2 separate regions of the Homo sapiens genome follow, and region 2 is linked to region 1. Evidence: promoter capture Hi-C in 16 types of primary human blood cells and fetal thymus (Javierre and others, 2016). All regions are on one chromosome and are shown on one strand. Each heading gives the region's core, a stretch centred on a gene start or on the middle of the fragment in contact. The rest is flanking DNA. Distances are from core to core; before and after follow the strand shown. Region 1 holds the start of AGPAT5 (1-acylglycerol-3-phosphate O-acyltransferase 5). Region 2 overlaps MCPH1 (microcephalin 1).

Region 1 (4,929 bases), core at 1,614-4,113:
TATAAAATTCTTATTACTTATTCTAAAGAAATAAATGGTGAAGAAAGTACCCATTTGAGTTTCAGTACCAATGAGAGATTCTGGAAGGACCTAAAAGGATAAACGAGTTATAAGGAACAATTTTAGCAGCACTGACTGAAATATTTCTCTATCTCAGAGATACATATGAAAATAAAGTAGTGAAATTGGGGAAGAAAAAGGTATTTACCCAGAATCCAAGAAAAATCCAACTAAATTTGTTGGAAGCAGGTTTACCTGCCAAGCACAGATCATAAATCTCATGGACCTACTACTACTTCTCTTCAGCTTAAAAATTCTATGTAAAAGAAAATATTCTTCTGCAAGAACTACTGTGAACCACTTATTTTTTAAACCTAGAGTTGAAAGGTGTAAAAATGTCATTTAAAAAAAATTTTATTTTAAAATGCCTCTTTAATATATATAAATTAATAAACCTTTTATTTAAAAACTTATAACCTCTTAAATTACTAAAACTCCCTTCAGAAATGAGTCAACAATACTTTATACAGAACAAGAGAATCATCACTAGCCTTGCAAACGAAAGCTGATAAAAACAATTCAAGAAAAAAAGAGTGTCCTAACAAAACAAGAAAAGCAAGCTAAAAATTTTAATCAAAACATCTCAGTGACAAAGTTAATGGTACAAAGTCACAGGTAAAAAATAAGGTGACAGAACATCACTATAAATCTTTTTCCTTTGGGTCTTATGTTTGAAGATAGCTATTTATTCCTCTATTGATTTAATCTTAACAGAAACAATAAAAAATATTGAAAGGTAGCTTTGTGTACACAGGAAACCCAGATTGCAGAAAAAGACCCTAATAAATTCAAAATACCCTGCTCTGTTACTAAACAGAAAATAATTATTTGTCCCCTCCATACAATAAAAATAAAAATGCAGGAACAAGAAACTCTTGGTTTTAAATTTTTATTAAATGTTCATAACTTGCATTTGATGATCAGTGGGCAATCAGTTCGTTCTACGACTCCTAAAGAACTTCATCAAGGAACACACATTAAACAAAATTTTGAATTATACTTAAGGGTCCTCAGGCATCCTTTCATAAATGCATGAAAATTAGTGCTGGATGCCACTTCCTTTGATTTGAACAGACGGTGGGGGGAATGATTAGATTAAATGTTTTCAAAATCACTTGCTGGGAAATCAAGAAGTAAATCGGATCTCTGAACATCAGGTAAGGTATGCAATTTCAGAAACACTGCTAGGTTTTACAGCCATTTAAAAAAATAAGAACTTGCCAAACCAAAAAATCCTTCAATGGTGTATTCTGCATCATATTGTGTCCTCTTTGAACAAAAATAACATAACCCGCCACAGATAGAATTATTTTTTTAAGAGGTGAATGACTTTGTGTTCTGAGCTTATATCCCATCCCAGGCCAGTTGTCACATGATGTGGAAGTAAAAACTTAATCATGATAAAAATCATACATTTAGACAAACTTGGTGGAGTTACCATATAAAGGGAAAAAATTAGCCTGAATTATTGAAATTTTTAAATGAGGCCCATTTTAAACGTCAACTACCAGGAAACCATGACCTGGAACAGTATCTTTTTTTCTTTCCAAGGAGACACTTACAGACACTGGTTTAAATGGAGGCCCTGGCCTCTCCTAGTTCCTTCCCCCCAAACAACTTCCAACTGGGGCCATCAAGGGTCGATCAGCAGTGCAACTGCAAACTAAATATAGTACCTGACTGACCACAGGGTAAAAACAGCTGCTGTAGGTGGAAAAAAAAAAAGTTAAAAAGACAAAATGATACCGTCCCATTTCCCCATGCCACCCTAACCCTACCAAGAAAAGTAAAAGAGGACTAGGTGGACATTAGGAATAACCAAGAATAAAGCTGTTCTTTCAAACTGAGAAATAAAAGAAAAATTCACCTTTTTTTTTTTTTTATAACACTTCAAATACCTACTGTTAAAGAGGGCCTTCCACTTTTATGGTTTGTTTCTCAAGTTTAATCTACGAATCCAATCTCTACAGAGAAACAGTAACAGAAAGAAAGTAATCAGACAACAGATCACCCACACATTCAAGCCCAGTTAAAGTTGGCAAGAAATGTATCTAGTTAGGCTTCTACGGTTAACAAATGTATTCATTTCTTCGCCCAGCTTTCACTTGTCCAGGGGAAAGAACACAAGACCGAATTGTACTTCTGTTTCAAGAGGTCACTGTAAAAGCGCACTTCGGAGTGTAGACGTCTCCGATCTGTTCCAACATGACCACCTCTTTGGACCAAAGGCCAGAAACTGCTAAACGCGTGCCCTATTATTTAAAACGTGCATCTGCACCCACTTTGCTAAGCAGCATCAGACCCAGGCGAGGGGCGGGGAAAGGGGCGGCGGGTCCCACTCGTAGCCTCAGGACGACGCAGCCACAGCTTCCTAGAGAGCGATCTCGGCAGAACGGCAGGAAGCATGCGGAGAGGAAGGCGGGGAGGCGGCACGTGCTCTCCGTGCTGGGTCCGCCGGGCCGGCCGGGTGACCCTCGCCAGCTGTGGGGGAGCGGAGAGGTCCGCGCCCCCGGGAGCTCGGGTGGACGCCGAGACCCGGGAGCGGGAGGCGGCTCACCTGGACCCCGGTGTAATTCTCGAAGAAGAAGAGCACCATGCTCTGGTAGACGCAGTAGAGCCGGTCGTCCAGCGCTTGGTAGAAGCGGGCGGGCAGGAAGGCGGAGAGCAGCCGCCAGACCCCCCAGGCCAACACGTAGGTGGGCGCCGTGCCCAGGAGCACGACGCTGGGCAGCAGGTAGCGCATGGAGTACGTGTGGAGCACCAGGGACAGCAGCATCTTCTCAGCTCGGCGGCAGCGAGCTCCGCCTGCGCTCCCCGCCCGCCTCCCGGGCCTCAGTCGCGGCCAGCAGGCGGCCAATCACCGCCCGGGCCCGGGCCGCCGCGCCCGCCACCCGCTCCCAGCCTCCGCCCCCAGCCGCATGGGCCGCGCCGCCGCCCGGGGCCGGGTAGGCGAGTGCGGGGCTGCGTGCGCCGCTCCCGGCGGCAAAGCAAGGGAACCCGCGGCCCTCCCGGATCGATGGCTCAGGGATGCTCACACCCCATGACCCTCACCCATCGCCACATCCCCCTGCCGGGGCAGGGGGCTCCGCGGCAACAACGCGCCTTCTGATTGGTCGCCCGTTGCCATAGTTCCACCTCGGCGGCAATAACACGTCTCTTGATTGGTTGGTTTGGGCCGACAGTTGCAGTACAGCTACCTGCTGGGGCGCGGGCAACCCGGCTCCGGCCACTGCGCATGCTCCCCAGCTGGGCCGGCTGCGGACGCGGGAAGGGAGGTGGTGGCGACTGACGGAACTGGGTGAAGGTGGGTGCTGGCCGGAGGAGGGTCCGGGTGCCTCTTGTTCTGCTCCCTCGGGCCGGACGTGCGCGCGGTCAGGTTTAAGGGTCGCTGGAGCTGCCTGGAACGCGCACCTGCTGCTCACAAGCCCCTGGGCGCCGGGATGCACACAATTAGAGCAGTGAGAAAGTGGGTGTTAACGTTATCGGAGGTCTAATTCTTGCAGGCACCTGGGCCCAGGTTGTAGGCAGCTCGGCCCAGGTCGCGGGGCAGCTCGAGTGTCCCCATCTGCTCACTGCCAGTCCTTTGCAAGGGGACGCCGCCTCCTCAGCCTCCGCTCTGAGTGCGCAGCAGCCCCTCCTGCCCGTCTCTCGCTACCAGGGTGTTTCAGAATTAGGGTCCGTGTTTTTCCCCATCACAGTAATGATGATAATTACATGTTTATGCATAGCTGAAGAACAATCCCACAAGGATATTTCCATACTGTTTATTAGACCTTTTCAGAATTCACTCTTGCTTCATTTCCTCAGAGTCTGTTGGACTTGTTTCTGATTTTTTTTTAATAAGGAGCCTCGTTTTTTTCTGTAGTAATTAAAGTAGTTGCGTGCACATGTGTAATCCATAAAAAGCATACTTTTGTAGCCTTCACTAAAAGCTACGAAGGGTGGATAACTGTTTTATTGATGTTAAAGCAGATCCACAGGACTTTTGGATCTTTCTCCTCCCCTTTGGCTGTGGTAAAAATGGTTTAATATGTAACCCTTTTCAAGGATAGTTGTACTTTAAAAGAATGCCGAATGCTTTACCATATATATATATATATATATATATATATATATATATATATTCCCGCCCCCTCCCCACCACCACCATAATGGGAGCCTGTGCTACCTTTAGGCAGGACGGTATTTCAGTGGGAAGTTCTAATCAGGGCCAGGATGGTAGCTACTTTCTTTATACATGATTAACATCAAATAACAACATCATTGGTAGATGATGACCTTTGGGGACAAAGCCAGGTGAATGGAGATCTCTCAAGTAACAAGTATTTGAAGGCCAGCAGGAAGCATTACACAGTAAAAGGAGCTTCTCTCTTTCTGTGGCTGTCATTGTCCTGTACTGTAAGAAGCACTAGGTTTAGTACTGGTGGAAAAAAGTCACAGGTGTGGACAGTGTGCACAACTAATGCTCCTTATGCTTTCTTTAACTGAGACCAGACATCTCTACACTAGAACAGTGTGCGAAAAGATAAAGCAGGTTCTGTGTTCACGTTAGGATTGCTGTGTATAAAGTCAGTAAATATGTGTTTATGTGTAAATTTGTTGTGAATCACCCCAGATTACTGTTAGTCACGAAGTTGTAAACTTTTGTGCAATGTTTGCCATGAAAACACAGAACTTAACTTTCTCTTGTTCCCTCTTTATCTCCAAACCCAGCTCCTGACTATCAGTTATTGTCTGTCCTGCTCCCGCTCCTCTCTTCCTGCGAACAGTCACAGATCCACCCTCTCTTTCTGCCACTACCCGGCCCTGTTTTTCTGTTTTTTTTTTTTTCCCTTTTTCCGTGCAAACCTCTTAGTTGATAATCAGCCC
Region 2 (4,929 bases), core at 1,213-3,712, 270 kb after region 1:
GACCATAATTGCTTATCTGTAGCAATGCTGTGTCAGAATTAGTAGGAAATACTGACTTTAGACGACAGTGAAAAAGGCAAAACAGAAATACCAAAAACGTACAAAGCATCTTAATGTTTCATAATATTCTTTTTTTTTTGAGTTGGAGTCTCACTCTGTTGCCCAGGCTGGAGTGCAGTGGTGCAGTCTCGGCTCACTGCAAGCTCTGCCTCCCAGGTTCACCCCATTCTCCTGCCTCAGCCTCCCAAGTAGCTGGGACTACAGGCGCCTGCCACCACTCCCAGCTAATTTTTTTGTATTTTTAGTAGAGACAGGGTTTCAACATGTTAGCCAGGATGGTCTCTATCTCCTGACCTCGTGATCCGCCCGCCTCTGCCTCCCAAAGTGCTGGGATTACAGGCGTGAGCCACTGTGCCCAGCCCATAATATTCTTATATATAAAAATATTATTTAACAATATATATACATAAGAATACATATATTTTTTTCTAAGACATCTTGTTATAGAACATAATATTCTAAAGTATTTTCCCAAATCACTAAAATAATGTATCATCTAAGATTTGCCTATTCAGGGTAACAAAACAAAAATGCCAATTAGGTAAAAATACAAAGTTATATATAAAGAAGAAATAAATAGGTATTTATTTCAATAATGCTTATTAGCCAAAGTTTGCTTTTCTTCTGAAATCATTCCCGAAAATAAAAAGTTCGACCACCTTGATGAATGGTTAAGACTGTGGTCGATTAGCTCAAGCTGCGTGGCTCTATTATGGCTCCCAGCCAAGTCTCCCGCAGGCTCCTGACATTTTGTTTTCTCCTTCATAGAGTAAAGCTATCATAGTCTTCATCAGCTCTCTCATGCTGAACCCCACTAGTCATCATGCAAATTAAACAAGGTGTATGGACACAAATGCAAAGAACTGTATTATATTTCTTAGCTTACCTAGATTTGTTTTTTGCCTTTGTAGCTCTTTAGCCATTTTCTCAAATTTCTTCTGAAATCTCTTATCATTTTCTGGTGTTTTAAAATTAAAATCTTTGGGCTGCATACATTTACGCTGTGCAAAAAGAACACAAAAATTAATGCTGTACTGCAACTGCTTAAGGCAGGAGAAAAAGCCCTTTCGCATACATTTCTGATACCTTTTATAACATCAGTAATAAAAAATTCTAAAAGAGGTGTTTCTTGCACTGTATGTGAACTGGCAATATTTATTTTTTTGTGCAGTTATAAAGAAAATGGACAGAATTTAAAAGACTGTATAAAAGGCTCTGTATTATGCTTTGTGAGACATTTTCATGATCCTAGCATTCTTAGTTTCCATGAAAGTTTTTAGCCAGTCTCTTTCGATTTTTTGCTGTTCTTACCACCAAACCAGCCCAATCTAGTTCAACTTTGTGTATCAAAATGGTGAACTGTTTAATTGCCACGGCCCCTGAAGTTGCAAGTTACGTCACTTGAGCATGCCCAGGTGAACCAAGCATGTAACCACGGGCAGAACCTAAGCACTTAGACCAAGGAACGGGGGCCAAATTAAGGAGTAAACACCTGATGGCATAATCCATGATCCAATCAGATTGAGCCCTGGCATCACCTTGTGACACAACCCAGTCAGATGACACCTCCCAGCATCACCCCATTGCAAGATCCAATCAGATCACACTTTGTTTTCTCTGCCTATGAAACTGCCTGAGCCCCCACCTCAGGGAGGCGGATTTGAGAGTTTCCTCCTGTCTCCTTGCCAGGCAACTTGCAATAAAGCCTTTCTTTTCTCAAAACAAGTGGCATGATCTTGGACTCTATGTGGGTTGGCAGCACGCCCACTGCCTGCTTGGTAGCACTATTCTCACGTCATCCTCCCTGCAAGACCACAACACAGTAATAAAACAATTTCTATTTTATAATTACCAAAGAAAAGAACCATGATTATGCTTGCCCTACCGTCATTAAATCACAGTAACTCCAATCAGCCAGTAAAACCCAAAAACTGTAACTACACTCACAAACACATGAAACCCCAGGCTGATATCCACAGGAAGGTCTTGGGTTAACTCTACTCTTAACCATCCTCAGACAGGGGAAATGTTTCCTTTGAAACACACCTCACGTTCCCAGCCTTACCCACCCCACTTTCTGTTCTTGGAACTGCCCATTGACTTCCCGTCTTTAGCCCAGCCATCAGCACAAATACACATACTGAACTTCACATCGATTTTACCTATAACACTTTTATGCCTGACTTCTTTCTTATAGGACCCCAGGGAAATTTAAGTCATCTGTCTAGGTTCCTTCGTTTTCAGCGCGAAGCTACCAGCCCAAATTTGCTTACATGGGTAGCTAGCTACCCACGTAAACGCTAACTTCTTTTGCTCCAGTCTCATAGAAAGAACTTCTTTTAGCTACTCAAGGCTAATGCCTATACTGGGGATCTTGCTCTGTTAGTTATTCACTCATTTATTGACAAAAAACATGACTTTATGTCAGGCGCTGGTCTTGCAACCTAGAAAGATCCTTGTCATCATGGAGCTTGTATGCTGGTAAGGAATGACAGCAAATAAACATAATAAATAAGTAAATTGTATGTGTCTTGGGAGGTTCATTTCAACAGGCTTGGAACCGGCCTGCACTGCTTTCACTAAAGTACCTGCATGACACAAAATGTACTAATTAGACAGTGGTGCTTTATAGCCACAGGTCCGGGAAGTTTGGGGACAGATTGTGCTGGCCTGTCAACATTGTTTATGAGTAGTGAGATGAAGGATTTGCCTGGAGGCTCTGCCAGTGGGGCTGGTTCATATAGACTCAGGGTCAGCAGTATACAAGAAGACACTCCATCTTGCGCTTCCTGGTTCTCAGGTACGGTGCAGGTTGGACACATTGTTATTTTGGGGTCCTGTGAATCTTCTCTAGCAACTGTATTCCATCAAACTGCCCACATTACTACAGTGTGTTAGGAGGAGCCAGTCAGCACTGCAGATGAAAAGAGACTTGCATAGTTGGCACAAGTGGGAAGGAACTGCTGGTATAAACGGGTGGCAGGATAGGTCTCACAGAGAAAGTAACATCTGCACAAAGCCATAGGGAGGCTGGAAAACGGGTCATGTGTAAGGATTTTGGGGGAAGAATGTTCCAGACAGAGGGAACAGATAACGCAATGGCTCTGAAATAGAAATACGATTGGCATGCTTGAGGAACAGCAAGCTGGGCAGGCAGGCAGCAGACAGGGTGAGGGGGGAGACAGAGGCACAGAACCATCTCAAGGACCCAAAAGAATAAGGCCTTGAGTCGGGTTTAATTTGCAATTACATTTGGAAAAGAGAAGGAAAGGGAAGGTTTTTAGACATGAAAATTAAAGTGGTAAAGTGTACAAGCAATCATTAATGCTTCAGATTAGGAAAAATTAAAAAGATTAGTAACATCCAATATTGGTCAGAGTATCACGAAATAGGTTTTTTTTTTTTTTTTTTTTTTTTTGAGACAGAGCCTTGCTGTCGCCCAGGCTGGAGTGCAGTGGCATGATCTGGGCTCACTGCAACCTCCACCTCCTGGGTTCAAGCAATTCTCCTGCCTCAGCCTCCTGAGTAGCTGGGATTACAGGTGTGCACCACCAGGTTGGGCTAATTTTTGTATTTTTAGTAGAGATGGGGTTTCGCCATGTTGGCCAGGCTGCTCTCAAACTCCTGGCCTCAACTGATTTGCCCGCCTTGGCCTTCTGAAGTGCTGGGATTACAGGTGTGAGCCACTGTATCTGGCCAAGAAATAGGTCATCTTGTATATGATTGGTGGAGCTGGTAAAATCAAAATGTGTATGTATTCTTACCCAGTAATTTTATCTCTAGATATCTGACTTGGAGAAATAAACTCAAATATGTGGCTTAAGTAATATACTTAGCAAAAACTGACAGTGACTAAAAGTACATGAATACCGGAAAAACAGTCACAATGTATAATGCAATACAGAAAACTGAGTAGAGTCAAAGCTACCGACATGAAATGGTCAAAACCATATTGTTAATTGGGGAAGAGAAGGCAACTCACCAAATGATACACATAAGATAGCAGAGCCCCTTCACGTCAAGCATGCATGTGTGAGTGTGTACATGTGTGTAATGTACTGAAGAAATGCCACCTAGGATACTCATCAAATTGAAAGCTGCTTACATTGAGGGAGGGCAATCAAAGAGATGTCTGTGTTTACTAAATGTTTTACAAAGAAAATATGTATGTACTACTGATGTGTTTTTACAATAAACACTTGATTTTAGCATGTCACAGGGAGTCCAGAGACTGCTGAACACTTGTTCACCTATAATCAGGTAAGACTGAAGAAGTTCATCTATCACTGCATGGGCAAACTATGGCTTGTCTGAGATGAAATGTAACGAAGAAATATCATTTACTATTTTCAGGAAATGTGAAATTCACAGTTATTTCTCCTCTAGTCTACAGGAAATGTAGTTCAGTTTGGAGAAAGTCATCAAATCCTCCCTCTAACAGAGAATCTCATGTGAAAACAAGCTGGCTGTGATGTTTCAGAGTAAAGTACCCTCAGATAAAGAAATCACAATTAGAACTTTTACATAAATAGAAAGCCGAAAAGGTTGTGGTTAAAATGTGAATTCTATCTCAAATGAAAGCAATGTCTTTAACTCTACAGTTTGCCCTCTGTATCTGCAAGTTCCAGATCTATGGATTCAACCAGTCGCGATTGGAAATATTCAAAAGAAAAAAAATTTAACACAAATTAAAAAAAAATACAGTGTAACAACTATTTACAAAGCATTCACATTGTATTAGGTATTTTAAATAATCCAGAGATTACTTAAAGTACATGGGAGGAGCCAGGTGCAGTGGCTCACGCCTGTAATCCCAATTGGGAGGTTGAGGCAGGAGAATCACTTGGGGCCAGGAGTTTGAGACTAGCT

The links. The method cuts DNA at HindIII sites, captures the fragments that hold promoters and counts their contacts. A CHiCAGO score of 5 or more calls a contact.
Region 2: a contact is called between a fragment that was not itself captured here and the fragment with the promoter of AGPAT5 in region 1, in 17 of 17 cell types (total B cells, naive B cells, erythroblasts and 14 more). The highest score is 35.2, in total B cells.

Annotation. Positions count from the first base shown.
Region 1 is chr8:6,706,576-6,711,504 of GRCh38, reverse strand. It overlaps AGPAT5 (1-acylglycerol-3-phosphate O-acyltransferase 5), which reads right to left and starts at 2,863. Exons shown (of 8, transcript NM_018361.5): 1 at 2,618-2,863. The coding sequence starts at 2,836. MCPH1-AS1 (MCPH1 antisense RNA 1) reads left to right here and starts at 3,296. Exons shown (of 5, transcript NR_125386.1): 1 at 3,296-3,364. RefSeq lists silencers at 2,470-2,709, 2,770-3,109. The HindIII fragment of the contact is 5,238 bases long and covers 1-4,929 here.
Region 2 is chr8:6,432,180-6,437,108 of GRCh38, reverse strand. It overlaps MCPH1 (microcephalin 1), which reads right to left. Exons shown (of 14, transcript NM_024596.5): 5 at 947-1,061. Among named protein-coding and RNA genes, the nearest start is that of MCPH1, 28 kb to the right of the region's middle. The HindIII fragment of the contact is 9,018 bases long and covers 1-4,929 here.